Regions from separate parts of the Homo sapiens genome. Here all the other regions are linked to region 5. Evidence: promoter capture Hi-C in 16 types of primary human blood cells and fetal thymus (Javierre and others, 2016). All regions are on one chromosome and are shown on one strand. Each heading gives the region's core, a stretch centred on a gene start or on the middle of the fragment in contact. The rest is flanking DNA. Distances are from core to core; before and after follow the strand shown. Region 1 overlaps CDYL2 (chromodomain Y like 2). Region 2 holds the start of ADAT1 (adenosine deaminase tRNA specific 1). Region 3 overlaps DYNLRB2-AS1 (DYNLRB2 antisense RNA 1). Region 4 holds the start of TERF2IP (TERF2 interacting protein). Region 5 holds the start of WWOX (WW domain containing oxidoreductase). Region 6 overlaps CDYL2 (chromodomain Y like 2). Region 7 holds the start of TMEM231 (transmembrane protein 231).

Region 1 (3,815 bases), core at 726-3,225, 2.6 Mb before region 5:
GAATTCGAGACCAGTCTGGGCAACATGGTGAAACCCTGTCTCTACTAGAAATACAAAAATTAGCTGGGTGTGGTGGTGGGTGCCTGTAATTCTAGCTACTTGGGAAGCTGAGGCAGGAGAATCACTTGAACCCAGGATGCGGAGGTTGCAGTGAGCCAAGATCATGCCACTGCACTCCAGCCTGGGCAAGAAGAATGAAACTCTGTCTCAAAAGAAAAAAAAAATTTAGACATCTGACAGTGAACATCATAAGATTACTTAGAGGTGTTGGATGTAGTGATTAGATAATCTGAGAACCTAAACTTTCTTAAAATTCGAAGTGTATGGATTTTATCTGGCATAATTTTAACATGCCAGATGACAGTTAACTGTGGCTAAGATTTTTTTTTTTCTTGAATGCACCTGTGAATTTGAGCCCTGCTATTGCATTCAGGTCCTGAGAGCAAGGATTCTGTACATGGGACTAGGGGCTTTTGGTTCCACTCAACTGTAGAACTGATGAGTCTTCTCTTTTATTTAACTCTCCCCTCCACCTCACCTCCTGACATGATTGATGACCGGAAGTGCTCAAGCTGAACTCCCCCTGGGTTGGTCTGTTCTCTCTGTTAATTGTATCTGCTCCCCAAGATGATAAGAGTGATTGGAACACTGGGGAGAATGGACTGGAAGGAAAGTGCTTTGCACCTGTGTCTTTTAGGGGGCTAGAAGGAGACCCCCAACACCACAATTTTTTTATCCTATCTTCCAGCCTCTTGCTTTTTTCCCCTATGTCTTTTGATCAAGAGGTAAGAACTTCTGTAGGTCCTCCATTGTAAGTCTAGTGTTTATTCATTTATTCACTCATTCATTTATTCAACAAAGAATGACTTGTGTCGTTCTTTGTGCTGGGCCTCCGCTGGTTCTGAAGGTATATGAATAACTAAAACAGCCCTTGCCTTTAAGAATCCATCTGGTGGTGAGGAGGGAGCCAGACATTTGAGAAAATCCTTGTCAAGATGTGGAAGGTATCCATGATGATTTTCCTACAGTGTGATTCCCTTCACTGTCCAGTACGGTAGCCATCAGCCACAGGTGGTTAGAGTTATATTTCAATTAGTTAAAATTAAAAAATTAAAATTTCAATAGCCATATGTGGATTCCACCTACTGTATTAGACAATGCAGATATTGAACATTTTCATCATTGCAGGAAGTTCTGAATCAGACTGTAAGCTCTTTGAAGGCAGATCCATGTCTGGTTCTGCCCATCCGTATACCCCAGGTGCTAAGCATCTGGTGAACACTCACTAAGTATGTACTGAATGAACATGGGAGAGGATAATAAGGAGAGTAAAAGAAGGGTGTACAAACAACCAGAAGAGAGATGCACTGCTCTGGAAGAATGTGCAGAAGAGATATCCCTGGAGCTCCATCAAAAAGTAGGGGACTTTTAGCAAGTGGGGAAGGGAGGAAGGGTGCTTTCTCCAGGAGGGAGAATGACTCTGGTCTCACTAACTTCCTTCTGTGTTCTGATGTCTCAAGCCACACAAGGTGTTACTATTTTGTTTGCAATGGAAGGAAAATTCATAGCACTCACGCTGTGTTCTCTCCTTGGGTGTCTTTGAGAGGTGGGATCTCACTCAGAGCGCCAGATGTGATATAAATACGAGTTAGTCATCTAGGTGTGAGATCAACTGGATTGCAGAAAACAAGTGTTTTCACGTATGAGGCCAATACAAAGCTTTGCAAGCATGTTTGACACATGGAGACTTCATGATCTGTGAGTGAGGTGAATACGGAATGCACCACTAGGAACATACTAGGAACATTATTAAGAATTTGGCGTGGGGTATGTTGTGATTGCTGGAGTGAGTTCCCCCACCTGATTGTTTGCTCATGCAGTCATTGGATGAACACTGGGTTAAGCATGCGGTGTCCTCTAGGCACTGCGCTCTGTGTTGCAGACACACAGGTGAATACATCTCAGGCTTATCCCTCAAGAGGCCACAGTCTGGTAGGGTCTTCAAGCAGGTGTATGGATGATGATAACATAGTGAAATGAGCTCTGCTTGGTAAAGCATCACATGACACAGGAATCAGATGTGGCATCCACATTTTCTTTCCTCCTTTGTTCAGCAAAGACTAGGCTCTGGAAAACAAAAGCAGAACATCCATCAGAGCCAACACCATGAAGAGGGCCTGAGACCAGGGCTAGTTTCAGTGTCTTGATGCTCGAATCCAGCATCAAGCTTGGTCAAGATGCTGGAGTTTGACCCTCATGCTGGCACTTCCCAGTGGCATGGCCTTGGGTTTTGGTTTTCTCATCCTTAAAATGGGGATGTAAACAGTGTCCTACAGGGTCGTGATGAGGATGGAATGAGACAACCTGTGTGAATCCCATAGTAGGCACTCAGCAACTTGTGAGTATTGCATAGTTGAGAGAAAGGACTCTGGGGAATATGCCAAAGTGACACTTGGAGTCTCCATTTCACACTGTTGTGGGGGCAGGTGTAGATCACTTCTACTCCAGCTGCCCATAATAATCAAGGAGCCACCCTGGTTTCTGAGGATGGCTGTGTTAAGTGAGGAACCAGAATGGATAATGTATCCCTCAATTGGGGATAGCATCCTTCAGCGATCTGTCTAAACTTTTCCTCCCTTCCTCCAGGCCTGAAGGGAATGTGGTGGTGTTCTGTACCTGGGGTTTGAAATGTTCTTGGTGGAGAACTTGGACATGGTTCCTGTGCCCTGCCAGGAGTGGCTGTGTTTTCTGAAAACTTATTTGCATGGTAGAAGTGCCCTACGGTCTGTCCTTGTCTGTCTCAGGCTCTGTGGCCTCACCCCAACCCCAGCCCTCCACTTCCTGCCCTCTCAGACAGCTTACCCCTAGCTCAGGGGCAGCTGCCCCTGTATCTTTAATGACAAGTTTCTATCTTTCCTTCTGTGTCTTGCACACTGCAGTGAATTCCCTGACACCTTTTGTTGCTGCATGTAGACCACTGTGCACCATTTCTTGATTCCCCTGGGATCCTTCTGGCATTTCTCTATTGATTGGGCAGTTTTTCTTCCCCTCTTTGCTGAGTTGAGATCCCTCTTTCTGTCTCAGAGTTTCTCCTCAGGAAATCTTACACACATCTTTATTATTTTATCCAGTGTGATTATCTCTGTCTTTTAATATGAGTTTAATATGTTCACAGAATAATGTAATTATTGAGATATTTGGATTATTTCTCCTATTTTAGGTAGCATTTTATTTTTACCCATTCTTGTTCTCTGTTCCCTCTCTCATTCCTATTTTCTGACCTTTTAATGCTTTTCACTGGATTGATACATTTTATACATTCCTTCTCCTTGGGCTGACTCAGAAGCTAGCTGTAGATTGTATTTTTAAACTTCAGCACACATACTAAAGTATGATCTTTTTCTAACAAATATGATGTCCTCTTACTGAATTTGGCAAGATGCTTCCTTCTGCTTGGCTTTCAGTTGTCATTGAACATGTCTCTTCCACATCTTACTATTATTTTATACACCCAACATTATTAAACACCATTGATTATTATTTTCACAGCCAGTAATTACATTTACTAAAATTTTAAAAATCTATTTTTTTACCCGTGTCTTCCTCTGAATTAAATTTTTGATTTGCTAAGTTTCTCTTAATTTTTTTAGAGTCTGTGGTAGATAAATTTTCTTGGTGTTAGAACACCTGAAAATGTCCATTTATGTGGTCCTTTAAATGCTGCTTTAGCTGGGTATAAAATTGGTTGACAGTTATTTTGTCTCAGCATTTTGATGAATAGTAGCTCATTTTTTCAAGCCTCTGTTATTGCTGTT
Region 2 (3,973 bases), core at 984-3,483, 2.5 Mb after region 5:
GGGTGAAACCCCGTCTCTACTAAAAATACAAAAATCAGCCGGGTGTTGTGGCATGTGCCTGTAATCCCAGCTACTGGGGAGGCTGAGGTAGAATTGCTTGCCCCTGGGAGGCGGAGGTTGCAGTGAGCCGAGATTGTGCCACTGCGTTACAGCCTGGGTAGGAGAGTGAGACTCCATCTCAAAAAAAAAAAAAGTACCGAGAAGGCATTCACTGAAGTATTATTTAAGCAGTAAATGTGTAGTAGTCACAAATCTGACACCAGATTTGCAGTTTGAAAAGATTAGTCTTGCTGCTCTGTGGAAAATGAATTGGAGTTAAGCAAGAAAAGGTGGAAATTCAGAGATGAGTGTAGCAATCCAAGAGGAATACGATAGTGGCTTTTACTAGCGTATTGGCATGCAAGTGGAGAGAAATGGATGGATTCAAGAGATAGGAAGTAAGATCAACAGGACTTGGTAATGGATTGCACTAAGGGGATTAAGGGAAGGGAGATAACAAGGAACATGACTCACTTTTTAGTTACGCAACTAGATTGCTAGTAATACCAATCCCTGAGATAAAGAACCCTAGAAGAAGGTCTTTGATACCCCTTACCCCCACTGGAATATTTCTTAAAAGACAGAAGAGGCAGTCACTTGCAGATTAAAGATATTGGAGAGGAATGAGGAGCAAAGTCTTTGGCCTTGGAGGAGGGCCATGTCCCATTTCCTTTGAACTAGAGAGAAGGATGGGGTTGAGCAAGTTGCATAAATTTTTGAGGGGTAACAAAGAAAAATGAATTCTTTCATTTTTAGTAATAGAGCATTCAGTTACTGGGTGACAAAGGCCCCTGAAGTATCCAGGCAGCTATATTACTTATTCCCGGCAATCCAAAGGTTTTTAGACCTGTTCTGCCCACTACACTGTAGTAGTACTGTACTACAGTAGCCAGTAGCCACATGTGACTATCCAGCATCTGAAATGTGGCTGATCCAAATTGGGATGTATTCTAAGTGTAACACACACCAGATTTCTTAAACTTCGCATTAAAAACAGAACAGAACATAAGTATTTTTTAAAATATTGAGACTCGGCAGCCAGGTGCGGTGGCTCACGCCTGTAATCCAGCACTTTGGGAGGCCGAGGCGGGCAGATCACGAGGTCAGGAGATCGAGACCATCCTGGCTAACATGGTGAAACCCCGTATCTACTAAAAATACAAAAATTAGCCTGACGTGGTGGCAGGCACCTGTAGTCCCAGCTACTCGCGAGGCTGAGGCAGGAGAATGGCGTGAACCTGGGAGGCGGAGCTTGCAGTGAGCAGAGATTGCGCCACTGCACTCCAGCCTGGGTGACAGAGCGAGACTCCGTCTCAAAAAAAAAAAAAAAAAAAAAAAAAATATATATATATATATATATGAGACAGACAGACCGACCCCGGGCATCGTGACTCACGCCTGTAATCCCAGCACTCTGGGAGGTTGAGGCGGGCGGATCACTTGAGGTCAGGAGTTCGAGACCAGCCTGGTAACATGGCGAAACCCCGTCTCTACTAAAAATAACAAAAATGAGCCGGGTGTGATGGCGGGCGCCTGTAATCCCAGCTACTTGGGAGGCTGAGGCAGGAGAATCGCTTGAAGCCAGGAGACGGAGGTTGCAGTGCGCCGAAATTGCGCCGCTTCCAGCCTGGGCGACAAAGCGAGACTCCATCTCAAAAAATTTTTTGATTATATGTTGAAATAATACTATTTGGGATGTATGGGTTAAATAAAATATATATGATTGTTTCTATTTTGACTTTTAATGAGGCTACTGGAAATTTTTAAATTACGTATATGGTTCGAATTATATATCTATTGGACAGTGATGTTACAGATAGAAATACAGCATAGTCAGGAGAATCGCTTGAACCGGGAGGCGAAGGTTGCAGTGAGCCGAGATCGCGCCTCTACACTCCAGCCTGAGCAACAGAGCAAGACTCCGTCTCAAAAAAAAAAAAGAAAAAGAAAAAAATTCAGCCGAGTGCTGCAAGATACGTCATTCTAGTTGAAGGAATATCTAAGCCAACAAGCGGCTCCCATCATCCGGTTTCACGCCTCTCTAAGACGCAGCCAGGGCTGCGGGACTTGAAGCGCGGGAATCTCGGCCCTGGCACCGACTCCCCGGAAAAACTACAGGGCCCGGCATGCACTGCGCGCCTCTGGGAGCGGGAGCCGAAAGGAACCGGCGCTTTGTGACGTCACGTCCGCCTTACCGGCGGATTAAGCTCGCTTTCTTCTAGGCGCGTTTCCTGAAGGTGGGAGGGGAGCGTCCGCGAGGCGCTGGGGCGACGGGGCAGGTTTATCCGGGCTAACTTTGCCGAGTCTGTTTTTGAGGGAAGAGGTTGTGAGGATCGTATCTTCCGGGACGCGTTTCACGTGGGAAGGCGCTCCACGCCTGGAACTGTCAGCAGCCGGCGCCTGAAGAGCTCCTGGCGCGGGGCCTCTGGCCTGGCAGCCGCAGGACCCAATGGATCAGGCGCTCACGCTGTTCTCACTGCATGGCTTCAGTGCCTTGCCTGGCACCTCCTATCCTGTAACTGGCCGACTCGGGGTCCCACCCAGGCTTCTCCAGCGGCCGGGAAGGGGCTCTGCTTCCGGAAGTGTTTAGGAAGGGAGCCAGCGTAAACCAGAGTCCCTTCCTCCAAGCATCGCTGAAGCCTTTTCTCCCCTGGCAGCCGACTTCCTTTTCTTTGGAAAGGACGTCAGTTTTTTTAGCTTGTTGAAACTGTTCAGAGATGCGGTCTTGTGGGCAAATAAATGCCTGTTTAGCTGAGCTGTTATTTTCAGCTAAGAAGTTCTTCAAGTTTTCAAGATCTAGGAGGGGGTGTAGGCTCGAATTATAATGGACCCAGTGTAGCAAAACATTTATTCATTTAAACAATTGTGCATGCTCATTCAGACGCACTACCTGAGTGAGATGATGCCGTTCTGGGCTGCTTCATCTTAAAGAGAGTCACTGTTTCTTCTGGCAACTTCTACCTGCCTTGCCTATCGAGGTTTGTGAATTGCACCTCTGGTTTAATTTCAGGTCGATGGCCAGGTGGTCTTCATAAACTATACTGCCTTGTGATGCCTCCCTAGAAATGAGAGGTGAGTCCCTTCCAAACGAGGATTCTAGGATCTCATGCTTTCTTTTCTTGACAAGGCTTGCCCTGGCCCTCTGACTTTCAAGTCACAGGGTCTCACTTCCTGCAGATTTTTGTTTTAAATCACTGTGGTCTGATTTACCAGTAGCATTCACTACAGTAGCGAGCCTGCACGTTGCGCTGCAGGGGATTCATAACAATACCATCTTTCAAAAGCTGCATGCACTGGAGCTCAGGAAAGCCTTTTTTGTTTTTTTGAGAGGGAGTCTCGCTCTGTCACCCAGCCTGGAGTGCAGTGGCACAATCTCGGCTCATTGCGACCTCCGCCTCCCGGGTTCAAGCGATTCTCCTGCCTCAGCCTCCCGAGTAGCTGGGACTACAGGCACGCGCCATCACGCCCGGCTAATTTTTTTGTATTTTCAGTAGAGACAGGGTTTCACCACGTTGGCCAGGCTGGCCTCGAACTCCTGACCTCAGGTGAGCCACCGCGCCCGGCCTTCAGTTTGGTTTTACAGTGCTTAGCTATGTCTATCACAAGCTCATCTTCTACTGGGAAGCTTTTTGTATAATTGAGTCCAAATGAGATCAGGATGTGCCTAGTGAGCATTGATAGGGCCAAGAGTGAGAGATTTCCCTGCAAAGTATCCTAGGGATCTGCTTGATGGTTTTTTAATTCATGGCTTTCTATGCCCATTACAGCCCTCCCCCTTTCACCCCCACCACCAGGTAGCTCAAGGCAAATTAACCAGGAAAATCATCAAATGTTATTTTTTGTAATAGTAATCACAGTTGACCTTAATTATGCTCAACATAGTAGCAATTGCTTTTTATAAGTATTACTTATTTAACCCTCACAGTAACCCTAA
Region 3 (3,429 bases), core at 797-3,296, 2.5 Mb before region 5:
CACTGGGCACCCACCATGTGCTAGATTTTTCTGCCAGGTACTGGGATAAGAATAAGGCAATGCAGAAGCTTAATGGACTGTCAAAAGCACAACAAGGCCAGGCGTGGTCGCTCACGCCTGTAATCCCACCACTTTGGGAGGCCGAGGCGGGTGTATCACTAGGTCAGGAGATCGAGACCATCTTGGCTAACACGGTGAAACCCCGTCTCTACTAAAAATACAAAAAATTAGCCGGACGTGGTGGTGGGCGCCTGTAGTCCCAGCTACTCGGGAGGCTGAGGCAGGAGAATGGTGTGAACCCAGGAGGCGGAGCTTGCAGTGAGCTGAGATCGCGCCACTGCACTCCAGCCTGGGTGGCAGAGCGAGACTCCGTCTCAAAAAAAAAAAAAAAAAAAAAAAAAAAGCACAACCAATTCACCTTCTCTTGATTGTTGAGTCAATGTAGTTAGTCAATACAGAACAGAAAATCAGTCTGATGGATTGAATTAGTCAACCAATCTAGACAAAATAGAAAAGCTGGCTATATGTATAGGCAGAATGGGGACAGGGGAAGAAGGAATGTTTCAAACTGGTTATAAGTATAGACAGTGGGAGGAGGATAAATCATAGAACAAACTAGTTTTATGTGTAGACATAATGGGATAAAGTGTAGGCTTGGTGAACACACAGAATAGTAGATGTATTCTCGATGGGAAAGTTAATCCTTTTGGCAATTCCAGATATGAGGATGTTCCATGAATGGAATGGTGATCTGAAATCCTGTTGATCCATATGGATGGTTGGTTGCTGGAGATCTGAGGGGCTTTGATGAAAAGATTAGGAGTAACTTCTCTGTCAGGTGAACCCCATCAGATATTGTTAAGTGTCAAAATTATGATATTGATTATATTTACAGTGATAACATAACAGCCATGGTGGTCATCTCTCAGCACTTATTGGTTCTCCAGATAGCATTGATGATGGTGATGATGATAATAGCAATAATTGTTGAACATCTACAAAATGTCAGATGCTTTCTATGATTTTTTTTTAGTCTCCTAACAACCTACAGTGCAGGATTCACGGCCAGTATTTTACAGGTGAGGATTCTGAGGTCAGAGAGGTTAATTTCCTTGCCAGCTGTCTGGTGAATATGCCATGTAAAGGAGTGGCTACCAGTGTGTGCTGGAGTCAAGTATTGGGGTTTGGGTGCCTCCTTTGACATTTAAGAGCTTGATTGACCTTGGGCAATCTGTGAAACTTTTCTATGCCTTGGTGTTCTTATCTGTAAAATGAGACTGTTGTGAGGATTTAATGTGCCTGTCACATAGTAAATGATCAACAAATGTTAGCTGTTGCCGCTGCTGTTCTTCTTGTTATTTTTACTATTGATGGCCGGGCTGTGAGCCAAAGACAGACCTGTCTGGCTATAAAAAAGTGTCCTTTCTTCTGTACCTCACTGCCTTCTGGAAACAGGGGAGAGTAGGAAGTCATGTTATTCCATACTGTACTTTATCCCTTTTTTCTAGTGTGTGGATCTCCACCACTCCAGACGCTCTCGGACACCTGGAGTGCTGCTTCGGAAATGCACCTGCCCAGAGTCCAGGTGGCCCATTCTTTTTGTAGCCAATGACAAAGGCAGATGCCACTCATCAGGTGGAAATAAACTAAAGTCCCTGCTCCCCAGTGAGAGTGACACCTCAGTGTCTCTCTGTCCCCCAGAGTCCACCTCCTGACAGGCCCATTAGTGCCCTGTCCTCCTGACTGGCCATATTGGAAGCTAGGGAGGGAGTGACCATGACCCCATTGCTCAGAGCCTCTGATTAATGCTCACTTCCTGAGCTGGCTCCGCTTCCTCCACTGTGTCTGATTAAAACAGCCAGGGGCGACCCAAATATAGCCCAAAATTGTTGGTTAAAGTCTTTTTGGTTTCAGGCAACAGAAACCTACTCTGGCAGTGTACACAAAATGGAAGACTTATTGTAAGACCTCAGGGCTGCCACATAGAATCCAAGTGCCAAAATGCAGCTGAGGACCAGAAAACTGCAGGGAGCCCCTGGAATGAACACTGTACCTCTCGTTCCATGTCACAATGCACAACTGCAGCATTCTTTTCTTCTCAGAACTGGTTTTTTCTGCTACTCCCATGTGGAGCACACGGCTACCCCCAGCACCTGTGTTTTCCTGCACAGGTCAAGCCACATGGAAATTTTCTCTCTGTCTTCCACATCTAAATACTAAGGAAACATCTCTCATTGGCCTCACCTGGACCACGTCTTTACCACTGACCAACCTGATGAAACTGCATTTGGGTATTACACATCAATATGAATTATGGTTGGGAATGTGGAAATGCTAACCAAATGAAAAGGAAAGGGATTACACAAAACTGTGCCCCACAGGATCACCACTCTGTAAACCTATTAATATTTACAATTAAAGATGAGAAGAGGCCGCAGTGAGATGCATTAAATAGCTTGTATTGTGGTAAACTTGTATTTTGCCACTATTGCTATTATTAATAACAGTAATTGGCATCTATACTGGCCTGTATAGTTCAGAATTCAAGGCTGCTGTGGGTGGACATTCTTCACATTTGTAGACAGGAAAACTGAGGTTCAAAGTTGTTGGCTCTGCTAGTAAGTCATAGAGTCAGGCCCCAGATGTCATGTTCTCTCAGCTGTATCGTATTGTGTCTCAAGTTGTAAAGTTGACCAAAGAGAGAGAATTTTAAAATCAATTCTGTTTGTGGCAGGAGTGTTCTAGGCTGGTGACATCTATAGAGGGAGTCTTGAAACCATATATGCTGAAGGGAAATACAGAATGTAGGTTTCCTGGGGTAAGAAGCCAGGAGGAAGTAAGAAGATTCAGTGTTCTCTTCTATGGGTTCAAGGAATGGCTGGGTGCACGGCTAACCCTCTATGTCAAATCTTGGACAAGAAACATACCAGAGAAGACTTTGAACCTTATGTAGTCCAAACTGCTCAGGGAATGCCTGAGTTTCCATTATTAGAGATGCTTTTATGTTAAGGGAGCCTTCTAGCCCTATGATTCTCAGGATTTGAGAGACCAACTTATATTTGTAAGTCCCCCATTAGAAGAGATTATACCTCTCTGAAAACTGTTATGCCCCACATATGATCCATGTTTTCCTGTGTTTTTGTTTGTTTGTTTTGTTTTGAGACAGAGTTTCACTCTTGTTGCCCAGGCTGGAGTGCAATGGTTCACTGCAACTTCTGCCTCCTTGGTTCAAGCAATTCTCCAGCCTCAGCCTCCTGAGTAGCTGGGATTATAGTCGCCTGCCACCACACCCAGCTAATTTTTGTATTTTTAGTAGAAACGGGGTTTTACCATGTTGGCAGGGCTGGTAACTCCTGACCTCAGGTGATCCATCTGCCTCGGCCTCCCAAAGTGCTGGGATTACAGGCATGAGATACCGCGCCCGGCCTT
Region 4 (3,433 bases), core at 538-3,037, 2.5 Mb after region 5:
ATTTTTTTTTTTTTTTGAGATGGAGTCTTGCTCTGTCACCCACGCTGGAGAGCAGTGGCGCAGTCTCGGCTCACTGCAACCTCCGCCCCCCGGGTTCAAGCAATTCTCCTGCCTCAGCCTCCTGAGTAGCTGGGACTACAGGAACTCTCCGCCACGGCCGGCTAATTTTTGTATTTTTAGTAGGGGCGGCATTTCGCCATGTTGGTCAGGCTCGTCTCGATCTCCTTACCTCAGGTGATCCGCCCGCCTCGGCCTCCCAAAGTGCTGGGATTACAAGCTTGAGCCGCCGCGCCCGGCCAAGAGAGAATTTTCTATATACTTTTTGTAACTTTTGAATATAGAACCATGTCAATATTCTAGTCAATGGTAAAGTAAATTAAAACTAGACCAAGAAGCTGGGTGTGATGGCTCACGCCTGTAATCCCAACACTTTGGGACACCGAGACGGGAGGATCGCTTGAGCCCAAGAGTTCGAGACCTGTCAGGGCAACACAACGAGACCCCCATCTCTACAACAATTTTTTTTTTAATTTAGCGGGACGTGGTGGCGCGGGAGTGTAGTTCCAGCTACTTGGGAGGCTGAAGCCGGAGATTCGCTTGAGCCCAGGAGGTCCAGGATGCAGTAGGTCGTGATCGCGCGGCTGCATCACAGCCTGGGCGACGGAGCGAGCCCCCACTCAAAAATTAAAAAATAAAAACGACGAGAGGCCAGACGTGGTGGCTCACTCCTGTAATCCCAACACTTTGGGTGGCCGAGGCAGGAGGATCGCTTGAGCTCAGGAGTTCAGACCAGCTTAGGTAACAGAGACCCATCGCAAAAAAAGAACAATAATAAACAACAAGGGAGCGAGAAGGCAAGAAAATGGTGCAAATTTACCCGGATGTCAACAGGGGGCGGGGCCAAGCGCTGCTACCGAAGATGCCAAGATGGACGCCAGGCAGCCAGGAGAAAGATCCCAACCCCACCCGCGCAGATATCCGCGAGGCCCCGCGCTCAGCCTCCTCACCCCCGCTATCCGCGGCCTCCGGGTCCTCCTCCGCCTTCCGCTTGAGCTTCTGGGAGGAGGGGCTCACCGGCGCGTCCCCCAGCAGGTACTTATGCTCCTGGCCCCGCAGGTGCTTGAGGTAGCGGTCCTTCAGGGACTGCCACGAGTGCTGCGTGAGCGAGCTCTTCTCCATCGCTTTCCACAAGGCGTTACCGGTGACGGAGCTGGGCGAGCGGGCATTTTCCTTCACGTAGGTAAGGATGGCTACGTCGTCCGCATCCGTGAAGGCGATCCGCCCGGCGTGCCGCTGCGGCTCCGGCTCCGCGGCGCCCTCGGCCAGGGCCCCGGGCTTTGCTTCCGAGCCGGTGTCCGCCGCCGAGGCGGGGCCCAGCCGATAGGCCTCCAGCTCCAGCCTCTCGTTGCGCTCCACGCAGTCCAGGATGTACTGCGTGGAGATGAAATCACCCGAGGCCTCGGCCAGCGCCTCCCCGGGCTGGGCCAGCAGCACGGCCCCGGGCTCCTGCACTCGGCACACGGTGCCGCCGCCGTGCAGGATGAGCGTCGACAGCCGACGCTTGGCCGGGCTGGGCCGCACGTAGAAGGACATGGAGCTGCCGTCGTCCCTCACGAACAGAGTCGAGGAATGGGTGGGCCCGTTGGGGTCTTTGCCCAAATCCATCGCCTCCGCCATGTCTGACGCCGAGCACTACTAGAAGAGCTACCCCCTCGCGAGCGCCTGGCACACAGAGCTCAACTGACTGAGCTGTCACCGCAGACGCCTCTGCCGCGAAGCGCAGCACTGGGCCTGCGCAGCAGCAGCCGCGGCGCATCGAGAGTGCCCGCCCCCTCTCCCCCGGAAGAGGTGGGGCTTCGCACCTTGACCTGGAAATTAACGTACTATCCTCCTTACTTTTGGGTCGGGCCCTCCGGGAAGATGGCGGCCGTGCAGGCGGCCGAGGTGAAAGTGGATGGCAGCGAGCCGAAACTGAGCAAGAAGTGAGTGTCGCTGCGAGTCTTTAAAGCCTTTGCGGTAGGAGAGTCTGGGCTGGGAAGCGCCGCGAGGTTCCCACCAAGGCTGCTGTGCCGGGGCCTTCTTGCCGGCTCTCGTGGGTACGCACATGCTGAGACGTGGTGGCTGCGCCCTGCAGACCACGTACCCCGGGATACCCCGGGCACGCCGGCTCCCCGTTCCCAGCTGGCACCGGCGGGATGCTCCCTATCATACTCCTAGAGTTAAGAGACTGTGGAGGAGGAACTAGGACGAGAACTAAGAGTTATCAGAAAAGAAAAGCGAAACTTCCTGCTTAGCTTCATCCTCCTTTCTGAGAAATGCATTCTTTTGTTGAGCCACTCAGTAAACGTGGAAGTTGGAGAAATGTTAAATACCCTAGCTTTTCAGAAAGACCTTCAAAATTTTCTGGGCCTCACTAAGGTCATTCTGAACGTTATGTATTAAAAGGGATCAGTTCTAAAACTGTCATGCATCTACCCGTATGGGTTATTCAGTAGATACCTGTGAGTATTAAGTGATCAACGTCTAACAGTAGAGACCATCTTAATTCAGCCTGATATCTTTGTTAACCACTCCCAAATCCCTGGAGTATGTAGGTTAACATAGATAAGTCAGGATTAGCCACCCTTTAACTGGCTGTCTTATATTCTCATTAGCGTTCCCCATTTGAACCACAGAACACAGGTAATTGAGTGTTTTATCATTGCTAGGAAGATGGTACATAGTACCATTCCAGAGGCATACGAGAGGGCTTAATCCCCGTGGCGCGCACTTGTTATCCCAGCTACTCGGGAGACTGAGGCAGGAGAATCGCTTTAACCCAGGAGGCGGAGGTTGCAGTGTGCTGAAGTCGTGCCACTGCACTCCAGCCTGGGAGACTTGAGGTAGTGGTCCTTCAGGGACTGCCAGAAGTGCTGCGTGAGCGAGCCCTTCTCCATCGCTTTCCCCAAGGAGTTACTGAGACGGAGCCAGACCCTGAATGAAAAAGAAAAGAGAAATGATGTTTCTTTTTTTTTTTTTTTAAGATGGAGTCTCGCTCTGTCGCCAGGCTGGAGTGCAGTGGCGCGATCTCAGCTCACTGCAACCTTCGCTGCCAGGGTTCAAGCGATTCTCCTGCCTCAGCCTCCCGAGTAGCTGGGATTACAGGCGTGTGCCACCATGGCTGGCCAATTTTTGTATTTTTAGTAGAGACAGGGTTTCACCATGTTGGGCAGGATGGTCTCAATCTCGTTACCTTGTGATCCGCCCACCTTGGCCTCCCAAAGTGCTGGGATGACAGGCGTGAGCCTGAGCCACCACCCCTGGCCTGATGTTTCCTTTTGTGTCCCTGGCTTTGTGCTTCAAATATCTTAGAAAAAGTATAAGAGAAATTGTCGAAGTTTATAGTTGGGTAGGACCTTAATATATTGTCCTTTATTAGAGCAATCCGATGGAC
Region 5 (3,525 bases), core at 1,026-3,525:
ACTTCCTGGTATACACACTGCGTGGGGACGCTCCTACACATGTCACTGTGCCCTAATAAGATTGGGTCCTAAGGATGACAACTGGCTCTTATTTGCCTCGGTATAACCAGTGCCAGCCAAAGGCCTGTCACATAATACCTGTGTGTGTCTTGAATGAACTCATCAGAACTTGGTTGTTTTTCCTCTACCTTGCCACCAAAGGCAGCAGTGGTTCACATCCTTGCATAGATTAGAATCACCTGGGAGGGAAGATTTTACAACCTACCAAGGGAGAGGGGAGGGGCCAAACCAATTAAATCAGAAATTCTGGGCTGACGCAGTGGCTCCTGTCTGTAATGCCAACACTTTGGGGGGCCGAGGTGGGCGGATCACTTGAGGCCAGGAGTTGGAGACCAGCCGGGCCAACAGCGCGAAATTAGCCAGGCCTGGTGGCGGGCGCCTGTAATCCCAGCTATTCGGGAGGCTGAGACACGAGAATCGCTTGAACTCGGCATGCAGAGGTTGCAGTGAACCGAGATCGCACCACGGCACTCCAGTTTGGGCGACGGAGCGAGACCCTGTCTTTAAAAAAAAAAAAAAAAAGGCCGGGAGCGGTAGCTCACGCCTGTAATCCCAGCACTTTGAGAGGCCGAGGCGGGAGGATCACGAGGTCAGGAGATCGAGACCATCCTGGCTAACACGGTGAAACCCCGTCTCTACTAAAAACACAAAAACTTAGCCGGGCGTGGTGGCGGGCGCCTGTAGTCCCAGCTACTCGGGAGGCTGAGGCAGGAGAATGGCGTGAACCCGGGAGGCGGAGGCTGCAGTGAGCCGAGATCGCGCCGCTGCACTCCAGCCTGGGCGACAGAGCAAGACTCCGTCTCAAAAGAAAAAAAAAAAAGAAAAACCCTCTGGAAGTGGGGCCCAGAAAAAGGCTCTTACAAAAAAAGTTTCCCAGATGCTGAAAATCAGATTTACATCCATGTTTCTCAAAACCAGGTGATATTCCACCTCACCTGGAAAGCTTAAAAAAAGAGACTCCCAAAGTTGAGAGTCGGCTACAGTAGGTTCTCTATGGAGACCCAAAACGTGTATTTAGGACATTTCCTAGGTGATTCTAAGGTGCCGATATAAGAGGCACTGTCGTATCTTAAGAGCAATCAAGGAACGACAGTTAAGGAACAGAGAGTACCTACTAGACACGGTGCTATGTGCTTTACGCACAGTGCCTGAACTGACCCTCGTATCAACCCATTTTACAGGTGAAAAAACCAAGATTAAACGTTATTTCAATGGCCCAAGGTCACACAGTTAAAGATGAAGGCTCTGCTGGGGTTTCCAAAACTTTCCCAGGAAATGATAGTGAAGCTATCTAGGACTGCTACTAAAAAATACTCCTGGCTAGGCGCAGTGGCTCACGCCTGTAATCTCAATTCTGGAGGCTGAGGCAGGTGGCCTGCTTGAGCCCAGTAGTTCGAGACCAGCCTGGGCAACATGGTGCGACCCTAGTCTCTACAAATACTTAAAAAATTAGTCGGGCATAGTAGTGCACGCTTGTAGTCCCAGCCACTCAAGAGGCTGAGATGAGAGGATTGTCTGAACCCAGTAGGTAGAGGCTACAGTGGGCTATGATGGCACCCCTGCACTCCAGCCTGGATGACTGAGCAATACCGGTCTGGACAAAACAAAACAAAACACAACAAAACTCCTATCCCTGCAACCCAGAGCCTGCAGGAGGGAGCTGAGCATGTGCGCTTTTTAAAACATCTTTATTTTTTGGCGGGGATGAGGCCGCTTTGCCCTCGCCGCGCCGCGCAGTGCTGCATCCTGAACAGCAGAGGGCGCGCCGGGAAGCCACCAGGTGACCCCCGCTGGACCCGAGGCCCACCAAGGGGGCCGGCCCCTACTGGGAACCCTGGACCCTTTTCCCTGAAGCTCCTTAACAGTTACTTTCACTTTGCACCGCACGCGCTGCGCTGGAGTGCGCGTCCTCCCCGCGCAGGTGGCGTCCGTGGGCTGTGCAGGGTCCCAGGTGCGTCCGCGGCCCCACTGCGGCCCCCTTACTTGGCGTAGTAAACCCAGCCGTCCTTGGTGGTTCTCTCCTCCCAGCCCGGAGGCAGCTCGTCCTCACTGTCCGTGTCGTCCAGCCCCGCGTAGCGCAGCGCTGCCATGGCTGACTGTGGAGGCACCTGGCCCCCCTATCGCCCGCTGCCGGGTCCACTCGCTCAGGAACTCACTCCCGCTCCAAACGAGACCCGCGCGCGTCGGGGCCCGACCGCTCACGCCTGCGCACTGCGCCCTCCAGGGGCCGCTCCGCCGACCACGAAGCTGAAATCCAGTCTCCGCAATATCGCGACGGCCGGCGTCAAAGGGGCAGGGCCTGGAGAGGAAGGCGGTGAAAGTGCCTAAGAGATCGCGCTGCCGCCGGGCTAGACAGCAAAGCCGGAGAGCGCTCCGAGGCGCTAGAGATAGAGCGGAGCCTTGTCAGCCTCCCCGCCGCAGGGAAGGGGCGTGCGCATCCAGTTTCGGGCCAGGACTCCGCCCGTTGCTGGGCGACCCGTAATCACTTCCGCGTTGTTCTGGCCAATCCTGCAGGAGCCCGGCAATTGGATATGGGAAATGTAGTCCAGGTGGCGCCTGACCAAAAAGCGGCGCCCGACTAAAAAGCGGCGCCCATGCTGTTGTCCTGGGCTTCTGTCTCTCCTTGCCTTGGGGTCTCGTGAAAGTCCGTGATCACAAACCTTCCAGGGCTTGCCAGCATTCGTGCTGATTCACAACCTTTGTTTTGCATATGAACACAATGTTAAAATATAACCTGGAGAACTTAAAACTGCTGATTCCTGATTTCCTGGTTTTAGAGAACTTTCTTTCAGCCAAAACACATAATAGAGACTGTGATAATAGAGACTGTTGTTTAATAGAGACTCATGATAATAGAGACTGATGATAATAGAGACTGATTGATAATAGAGACTGTTGATAATAGAGACTGATGTTTACGGAGCACTTAATGTGCGGTCCAGGCCAGAAATGCACAGACATCACATGTAGCTGACACCTTTGTGTAGTGGGCACAACTCAGACAGGGTAGCTAGGCCGGGCTCAGTGGCTCATGCCTGTAATCCAAACACATTAGGAGGCTGAGGCAGGAGGATCACTTGAGGCCAGGAGTTTGAGAACAGCCTGGGCAACATCGCAAGACCCCTGTCTTTACCAAAAATAATTATTTTTTTAGTTTGCCGGGCGTGGTAGTGCACATCGGTAGTCCCAGCTACTCATTGAGGCTGAAGGGGGAGGATCACTTGAGCCCAAGAAGTCGAGGCTGCAGTGAGCTATGATCGGGCCACTGCACTCCAGCATGGACGACAGAGAGAGCTGCTGTCTTTAAAAAACTGCCTCACCTTTAGAGAATTTCCTTTAGTAAGTCTGGAATAGGTCCAGAATCTGGAAAGAAAGGGAGGGAGGGAGGGAGGGAGGGAGGAAGGAAGGAAGGAAGGAAGGAAGGAAGGAAGGAAGGAAGGAAGGAAGGAAGGAAGGAAAATAAAA
Region 6 (3,696 bases), core at 738-3,237, 2.6 Mb before region 5:
TGCAAGAGCTTGCTGTCTTTAGGTACTCTTGCTGAGAAATCTGAGCAATCCGTGTTGAGGCTCCTCTTTCTCCAGAGAGAGGAATTTCACCCAAACAGGATTTACTTAGCATCTTTGCCCCAGACTGACTCACGTTTCCGTCTCGGGATCCCTGACGCTGACGTGACTGTGCCTGTGAACATATGTAAAAGCTGTTTGTTTTAGAAATTCATCTCTCGGGGAGAAGTGGGCTCGTGTAAATGGGGCTTGGCATAAACACCCGTGTTTGATGTTGCTGTGACGGCTGCTGGCGGTGGCGGAGTTCCCTGTCTCAGGAAGGGTGGCGAGGGGAGATTTTGTGGCCCTTTGGGTGCAGGGGCAAGGCTCTGGCGGGGTTCCCTGCATTCCAGCTGTTAGCAGCTCCCTGCCCTGCTCATATGGGGCAATCCCAAGAGTAAAGCATGAGGGAGGAAGATTTGCTGACTGTAGCTGACAGTCTGCAGTGTGAAGGAGAGAAGCCAGACTCATAGAGGGGTCTACATGAGGGTGTGCCTCTTGTGCTGTGCAATCTTCTGCGGTGAGGCAGAGCTGCGAGCTCTGTGCTCTTCACCCTTCGGCTTTGCTGATGCCCCCTGGTCCATGACCTGGTGATAAGGCATGGTACCCCACAAGCAGGGAAAACAGGTGAGGGCCAACCTGTTGAGATCCGTTGATTGTCCTGTTAGCTCCAAAATGCTATTCTAGACCTTTCTTGTCTCTCTGATCTCTTATCTTCCTCATATTTGCCTGACGTTGTGTGTTCTCTACTCCCACTTGAGCCAATGCTGGCCTCTATTTTGTTCTGTTTTGTCTGTTTCAAAAGGGCCCTTTTGCTTAATCACATCCCATAGCACTGGTGCCCGTAAGGTTAAGGCACTGGTTCTCAGATTCTGCATGTATTAGATTATCTGGCAACTGATGAGAGATGCAGATCCCATGGAATCTGATTTCCTAAGTCTAGGGTGGAGCCCAGGAGATGGACTTGTTAACAAACTTCCTGGGTGACTCTACCGCATTTTGAGATGAGCTTTGTGGCCAAATGTGTGGGGGGTGGGACCTTGAAGTTTCACATCAGGTGTCAATTTAATTCAATTCAATACTGATTTTTTTTTATGACTTCCTAAGAGTTATTCACCATGCTGGGTGCTTGAAGTAGAGTAATGAAGAGATAGGTATGGACTTTTCCCTCTGAAACTTATAGCTTCCCTCTGAAACTTGCCAGGAAGTTGGAATGCCGGCCTCTGGCCCCATGCTGAGAAGGCGCCCGAGGCTGGCTCCATGGAAGGAGTAACACATATTACATACATGTGCATGGCTTCACCATACCCACAATGACGTCTTCTGTGGTCACTCGTGTGATAATTGTCCCAGCCACCATCAGCCTTTCACCTTCTAGTCAGAACTAGCTTGTTAGCCAGGTCTGGGGGAACTGGGAAGAGGAAAAGACTGAGAATCCTTGCTTGAGAGAGAAGGAGAGTGTTGAAGAGAGTGGTTTGAGGTTCCTGGACAAGACCCAAGACAGGGGATGCCGTGGTTCCAGAATTTTTCAGCAACAGGCCAGAGGTGTAGTCCAGCAAAACGTGTTTCCATGTGTGTTTTCAGCCAGAGGGAAGCTTTGCTGAAGCCAGTGTTCAGGCCCACGTAGCCCTGAATGTCCTCCTTCTACCCTCTTCCCTAACCTCACCTTCCCTTATCTGGACTAAAGGATCCAGTCTCCAGGGGCCCAAGGGTGAGCACTGGGGGTTTGCAGCACAAAGGAGGGCTCATCTTAGCCCAGCAGAAGGGGTTGGGGGATCCTGGCTGCAGTTGCACAGCATTTGTTTTGGGGGTGGGCTGTTGCTTTTTATATGGTTTTAGCTTCTCTTTGGTGAGTTAAGGTTCTGCATACAGAACAGCAACTTATGTAACATGTTACTCATTTACTGCTGACTTCCCTGATCTACTGTGGAACAAATGCTAAATTGGGGCTCCGGCGGGTGGTGTTTTGGTTTCAGACTGCGCTTTTTCCCCAGCAGTGTTTGTGGGGCGTGTGCAGCAGTTCTACACTGCTCTTGATTCTGAGTCTTCTCTGATAATGAGTACTGGCTTTGTGGTCCGGGGCCCATCTGCCTCAGTATCTCTTGGGGAGCTTGTTAAAACGGGCTGTATCCCAGTTGAATGAATCAGGATCTCAGGGGGCTGGAGGGGTGGGTTCTGCACGTTCATGCTGAATTGTAACAGCCACAGGTGTGTACAGGAGCTCCAGCAGATGTGTTTGGTCGTAAGAGATGGTTCATAGATCCATCTGTTGGTAGATCCATCTTTACTCCCTGGATTTGAAGCTTGTGAGAAGGAATGTGATCTGGTCCTTCAAAGTTTTAAAACCTGTCATAGTTTCTCTGCCTTGCTTGCAGTTTCTACTAGGCATCTCTCTCTTTTTTCTAAAACTACGCGAGTTTCATCGGTACAGAAAAGCTGGTGGGTTTGCTAACCCTTGCTGTGGTTCTGCCTTGGTGAACTGCTTAGCACTCGTCTAAACAGGCCAAAGCATCAGTGTTCTATGGATTCACACGAGCCTTTACTCTGTGAAACGTCCCTAACTAGGAGCCATCGTTTCTCTTTGAGCCCTAGAATAGCATAAAGACTTGCAGCGTTCTCCAAATTACCAGGAAGGTGATGAGCATCACTGTTGATGCCAGTCTTGTGGCCCCATGTCCACATTTCTGAAAGGACGTTTAAGATCCTTTCCTTGCATCTTGATGACTGTTGTCTGCTGCACAGACGTTGCATCTCACACATTGCATGATTCAGTGTTTGCAGAATTATCTCTACCATTGAACGAGTCATTCCACACAACACACACACGCAACATTTGCCATTTTCTCTCCATTGATCTTTTAAAATCGTCTCAGCTTTCACTTCTAGAACATTTGTTTATCTCTTCCTACTCACTCTTTCAACATGATTATCATTTTTCCCTTTATTGATTATAATGGATAACCATGTTTTAAAGGCAGTTGGAAACTAAGCGCAAGCAATGGGAAGTGGCCTATGGCTTTTGAGAATCTAGGGGCTCCCAAACATGGATCCGGCGTCAGAATCCCTTGGAGGGCATGTTGAAACACAGACTGTTGGGTGTACCTTCAGCATTCTGATTTAGTAGGTGTAGTGTGGAGCCTGAGAATCTGCACCTCCAGCAGAAGTTCCTAGATGCTGCTATTGGTCCAGTGAGCCCAGTTTCAGAACTACTGCTCTAGACTAATGAGCTCCAAGATGGCGGAGATGAAAATGCAGATGGTGTTGTGCCTGCCAGGTGGTGGTATTGAGGAAACTTGAAGTGCTTGTGCTCTGCACCTGGAGTTGGCATTCATAAGACTTTGTAAAGAGAAAGTTTGTGAAATGAAAAGCTGTAAGGTTGAAAGTTTTAGAGTATAAGTACTTCCCTGAGATGAGGCCTTGGAGTTTCCAAAGTACCTTGTGTGATCCTCATGGCAGTCGTGAGAGGTAGTTTTTCTACCCATTTTACAGAGGTGGAGACCGAGGTTACAAGTGTCCAGGTTGGAATTAGGAGAGAAACTCAGGCAATTTGACTGCAAATTTAACTATAGAGCTGGCCTCTATACCACGGCCCAGCTGGATTCCAGGCAGTAGAATTTCCCCAAGCCCTGATTACTGACAGAGACATTTTGTGACTGGGGG
Region 7 (3,720 bases), core at 245-2,744, 2.5 Mb after region 5:
GGAACCCTTGTCTCAGCCAAGGGCATTCCAAAGTTAACCTGAAAAACTAGTCTGGCCATCATGGGAAGTGGGGAGTCAGACGTAACTCATTATACCCTCCTCTTTTTGGAATTCAGACCCAGCTGACCAGTATTAGCATCAACACATAGATCTTAAGACTGATATTAATAGAACAGACTCTTAAAGTCTGATAAGAAACATTTACAATCTGTTCTCTCTGAAGCCTGGAGGCTTCATCTGCATGATAAAACATTAGACTCCACAACCCCTTATTGTTTTTTGTTTTTGTTTTTTTTTTGAAATGGAGTCTCACTTTGTCACCCAGGCTGAAGTGCAGTGGTATGATCTCGGCTCACTGCAGCTGCTGCCTCCCGGGTTAAAGCAATTCTCCTGCCTCAGCCTCCCAAGTAGCTGGGATTACAGGTGGACACCGCCAGATGCAGCTAATGTTTTTTTTTTTAATACATATTTTTGGTAGAGACAGGGTTTCACCATGTTGGCCAGGCTGGTCTTGAACTCCTGACCTCAAGTGATCTGCCTGCCTTGGCCTCCCAAAGTGTTGGGATTACAGGCGTGAGCCACTGTGCCCCGCCCACAAACCCACACATTCCTTTCTATTGATTCCAGGTCTTTAGATAATAACCAGTTGACAATTGGAAAAATCTCTGAATCTGCCAATTCTGTGGTCTGGAAGCCCCACCCCACCTCCACTTGTCTCATCTTTCAGTACTGAACCAATGTACATCTTACACGTATTGATTGATGTCTTATGTCTCCCTAAATGTATAAACTCAAGTTATACCCTATCCACCTTGGGCGTATGTCATCAGGACCTCCTGAGGCTGTGTCACAGGCATGTCCTTAACCTTGGCAAAATAAATTTCTACGTTGATTGAGACTTGTCTCAGATACATTTTGGTTTACACTACTGACATGCTGTCATTAGAGTGACTTTTCCAAATCACAAAGCTTATCATGTCTTTCCACTTAAATGTCATTTTACTGACCCTTTAACAAATTTACTTATATTTAAATATTTTGTATTTATTTTTTTAGAGACAAGGTCTCCTTCTGTCTCCCAGCCTGGAGTGCAGTAGTGCATTCATGGCTCACTGCAGCCTCCTGGGCTCAAGCCTTCCTCCTGCCCAGGCCTCCCGAGTAGCTGGACCTACAGGCATGAGCCACTGTGCTCAGCCACTCAGGACCTTTTTGTTGTTGTTGTTGTTGTTTGAGATGGAGTCTCGCTGCCACCCAGGCTGGAGTCCAATGTGTGATCTCCGCTCACTGTAATCTGTGCCTCCCGGGTTCAAGCGATTCTCCTGCCTCAGCCTCCAGAGTAGCTGGGATTACAGGTGCCCATCACCATGCCTGGCTAATTTTTGTATTTTTAGTAGAGATGAGGGTTCACCATGTTGGCCAGGCTGGTCTTGAACCCCTGACCTCAGGTGATCCGCCCACCTTGGCCTCCCAAAGTGTTGGGATTACAGGCGTGAGCCACCGTGCCCAGCCATTCAGGGCCATTTGATGAAGAAATTGGCTGTGGACCATAGATTTTTTTAAAAAGTCCTTCTACCATGTTAGAAATATTGGTTGGGGGTGGTGGCGGGGGGGTGTAGGCATTCAATTAAGCAATAAGCCAGTGATCTTTGGGGAGGACCATATATTCCTGTAAAACTCGCGGCTGAGCTGTACCCAACACAGGGTTAACGAAGTGCATCAGAGCTTTGTAGTAATTCCACTCTATCCGTGGAAGAGCCAGGGGATTTGTGTTTCCGTGTCTGTCTTGCATGGGAGCATAGTGGAAGCAACAGAAAATCTGGGGGCAAAAGCACCTGGCTTTGATCTCAGCCCAGGACCAGGTCCAGGACCACGGCCAGGCTTGTGACTGACTGGACTTCAGTAGGAACCACACTGGGGGTTAACAGATGACACAAAAGCAGGTGTTCGTTCTGTGCGGGAGACGCGCTAGGGGAGAAGAAAAGGCACACACACAGTACCTTTAAGGGTAAGCAAGCTTTATCCCACGTAAATGGCAATGCAGATATTATAATAAGCAAATTAATATAATAAGCAGATTGATATAATAAGCAAATTGCAATGGGAAGAGGAGAAGGAAAAAGACATATATATATATATATTTACACTCACCAGACTATGGAGGATTCACCTCCAGACTGGGAAGCAACGACCTGGGCTCCAGAGCCGGCCACTCGTCAGTGCACAGACGAGGAGAGGTCTCATGAAGCTTTTTGGCGTGGTCTGGGACCCTAGATCTTTTTGTAACATGTTGTCTAGCATGAGGCCCAGTCACGAGGGCCCTTTGCGACTGGGCTCAAGGAACACAAAAAGGTCAACTTGTTTTTGCGATTGTTGTTTTTCAATAACTGACGTATAGGAGTAGACTGAAATAGAGATTTCTCCGAAACAGCGCTGGATGAACGCCTCAAGGGGCTCCCACAACCTGTTTAGGGACTTGGTGACCATTGTTTGTGTCCATGTCAGTTGAAATTTAAATATTTAGTTCTTCCTCCTCAGTGTTCAAGTCAACTTTTATGGGCATCTTATTTTACACAAATGTTAACACAGACAACAGCCACGACTCTGGTCCACGGAAACGTTCTATCGCCGCCCAGCCTTTACGCAAACGTACACAGCTCGAAAAGCTAGGCCGACCGTCCCCGGCAGCGCCACGCCCGCTAACCCCGCCCCCGCCACTGGCTCCTTTCGGTGCGGCCTTGCTATTGGCTCCTTTCTGTGAGCCGTCGGTTGCCGTGGAGACCGAGGCGATGGCAACCAGGAGAAGCCAAACTTGGTCCCCCGGCTCGCGGAGTGCCTGCGAGCGGTGCTCATGGCGCTCTATGAGCTCTTCTCTCACCCGGTCGAGCGCAGTTACCGCGCGGGGCTCTGCTCCAAAGCCGCGCTGTTCCTGCTGCTGGCCGCTGCGCTCACGTACATCCCGCCGCTGCTGGTGGCCTTCCGGAGCCACGGTGAGCCTGCCCCGGCCGCTGTGCCACGAGGCTCCCCGGGCGCGCTCGGCCAGGGCCGGCCTCCCTAACCGCCTCCCTACCGCCCTCTTTAACTCAGGGTTTTGGCTGAAGCGGAGCAGCTACGAGGAGCAGCCGACCGTGCGCTTCCAACACCAGGTGCTGCTCGTGGCCCTGCTCGGACCCGAAAGCGACGGGTTCCTCGCCTGGAGCACGTTCCCCGCCTTCAACCGGCTGCAAGGGGATCGCCTGCGCGTCCCGCTCGTTTCGGTGCGTGGTTCCCGCCTGGGCCTGGGGCAGAGTCGGGGATAGGGTGGGGATGGGGACTGGAATGAGGATGTGGGGCGAGCGGCCCCGGCCCTGGGGAGCCCAGCTTTGATCCTAAGGACTCGCGAACCCGCAAAGGTGGCGTTTCATCTCCTAGGACCTAGGGAATCGATCTTCTGTTTCATTCTGCTTCTCCCAGATGTCCCCGGCCCCCAGAAAGTTAGCCATGCTGTCAGCGTGTGCGCCCTGACACAGAGTCCAGAAGTGTGGGGGCAGCCTGTGTCTGCCCGGGTCACACCCGCGGGCCTGGCCTGATGGAGGGTGTTTGTGAAAGTCCATTTAGGAGCCTGGAAGGCCGCGCGCTGTTAATGTAGATAACCCCATTCTGTCGCGGCGTTTCTGCATCACACCACTATAGGAACGGAAAGGGCAGCATTTTTATGCAGACCTGACCCCTGGAAACCAAGGC

The links. The method cuts DNA at HindIII sites, captures the fragments that hold promoters and counts their contacts. A CHiCAGO score of 5 or more calls a contact.
Region 1: a contact is called between a fragment that was not itself captured here and the fragment with the promoter of WWOX in region 5, in 1 of 17 cell types (total CD8 T cells). The highest score is 5.8, in total CD8 T cells.
Region 2: the fragment with the promoter of ADAT1 here is called in contact with the fragment with the promoter of WWOX in region 5 in 1 of 17 cell types (monocytes); the score reaches 5.8 in monocytes.
Region 3: a fragment that was not itself captured here is called in contact with the fragment with the promoter of WWOX in region 5 in 7 of 17 cell types (total CD8 T cells, activated CD4 T cells, naive CD8 T cells and 4 more); the score reaches 9.6 in total CD8 T cells.
Region 4: a contact is called between the fragment with the promoter of TERF2IP here and the fragment with the promoter of WWOX in region 5, in 15 of 17 cell types (naive CD4 T cells, total CD8 T cells, activated CD4 T cells and 12 more). The highest score is 35.6, in naive CD4 T cells.
Region 6: a contact is called between a fragment that was not itself captured here and the fragment with the promoter of WWOX in region 5, in 3 of 17 cell types (total B cells, naive B cells and non-activated CD4 T cells). The highest score is 9.5, in total B cells.
Region 7: a contact is called between a fragment that was not itself captured here and the fragment with the promoter of WWOX in region 5, in 1 of 17 cell types (monocytes). The highest score is 6.1, in monocytes.

What each region holds. Positions count from the first base shown.
Region 1 is chr16:80,660,004-80,663,818 of GRCh38, reverse strand. All of the region lies in intron 2 of CDYL2 (chromodomain Y like 2), which reads left to right. Among named protein-coding and RNA genes, the nearest start is that of LINC01227, 89 kb to the right of the region's middle. The HindIII fragment of the contact is 508 bases long and covers 1,722-2,229 here.
Region 2 is chr16:75,621,541-75,625,513 of GRCh38, reverse strand. It overlaps ADAT1 (adenosine deaminase tRNA specific 1), which reads left to right and starts at 2,233. Exons shown (of 10, transcript NM_001324445.2): 1 at 2,233-3,111. RefSeq lists enhancers at 1,920-2,439, 2,319-2,558, 2,440-2,959, 2,960-3,479, 3,480-3,973. The HindIII fragment of the contact is 8,287 bases long and covers 1-3,666 here.
Region 3 is chr16:80,555,178-80,558,606 of GRCh38, reverse strand. All of the region lies in intron 1 of DYNLRB2-AS1 (DYNLRB2 antisense RNA 1), which reads left to right. Among named protein-coding and RNA genes, the nearest start is that of DYNLRB2-AS1, 6.2 kb to the left of the region's middle. The HindIII fragment of the contact is 3,952 bases long and covers 71-3,429 here.
Region 4 is chr16:75,646,127-75,649,559 of GRCh38, reverse strand. TERF2IP (TERF2 interacting protein) reads right to left here and starts at 1,787. Exons shown (of 3, transcript NM_018975.4): 1 at 1,008-1,787. The coding sequence starts at 1,677. It overlaps KARS1 (lysyl-tRNA synthetase 1), which reads left to right and starts at 1,895. Exons shown (of 14, transcript NM_005548.3): 1 at 1,895-1,982. The coding sequence starts at 1,921. RefSeq lists enhancers at 1-865, 663-932, 866-1,823, 1,863-2,042 and a silencer at 1,243-1,362. The HindIII fragment of the contact is 3,802 bases long and covers 280-3,433 here.
Region 5 is chr16:78,098,404-78,101,928 of GRCh38, reverse strand. It overlaps WWOX (WW domain containing oxidoreductase), which reads right to left and starts at 2,275. Exons shown (of 9, transcript NM_016373.4): 1 at 2,044-2,275. The coding sequence starts at 2,150. RefSeq lists an enhancer at 1,542-2,041. The HindIII fragment of the contact is 3,217 bases long and covers 1,006-3,525 here.
Region 6 is chr16:80,679,351-80,683,046 of GRCh38, reverse strand. All of the region lies in intron 2 of CDYL2 (chromodomain Y like 2), which reads left to right. Among named protein-coding and RNA genes, the nearest start is that of LINC01227, 110 kb to the right of the region's middle. The HindIII fragment of the contact is 708 bases long and covers 1,634-2,341 here.
Region 7 is chr16:75,555,338-75,559,057 of GRCh38, reverse strand. It overlaps TMEM231 (transmembrane protein 231), which reads left to right and starts at 2,806. Exons shown (of 7, transcript NM_001077418.3): 1 at 2,806-2,987; 2 at 3,085-3,254. The coding sequence starts at 2,849. RefSeq lists enhancers at 2,376-2,485, 2,516-2,595 and silencers at 2,636-2,745, 3,036-3,115. The HindIII fragment of the contact is 1,045 bases long and covers 972-2,016 here.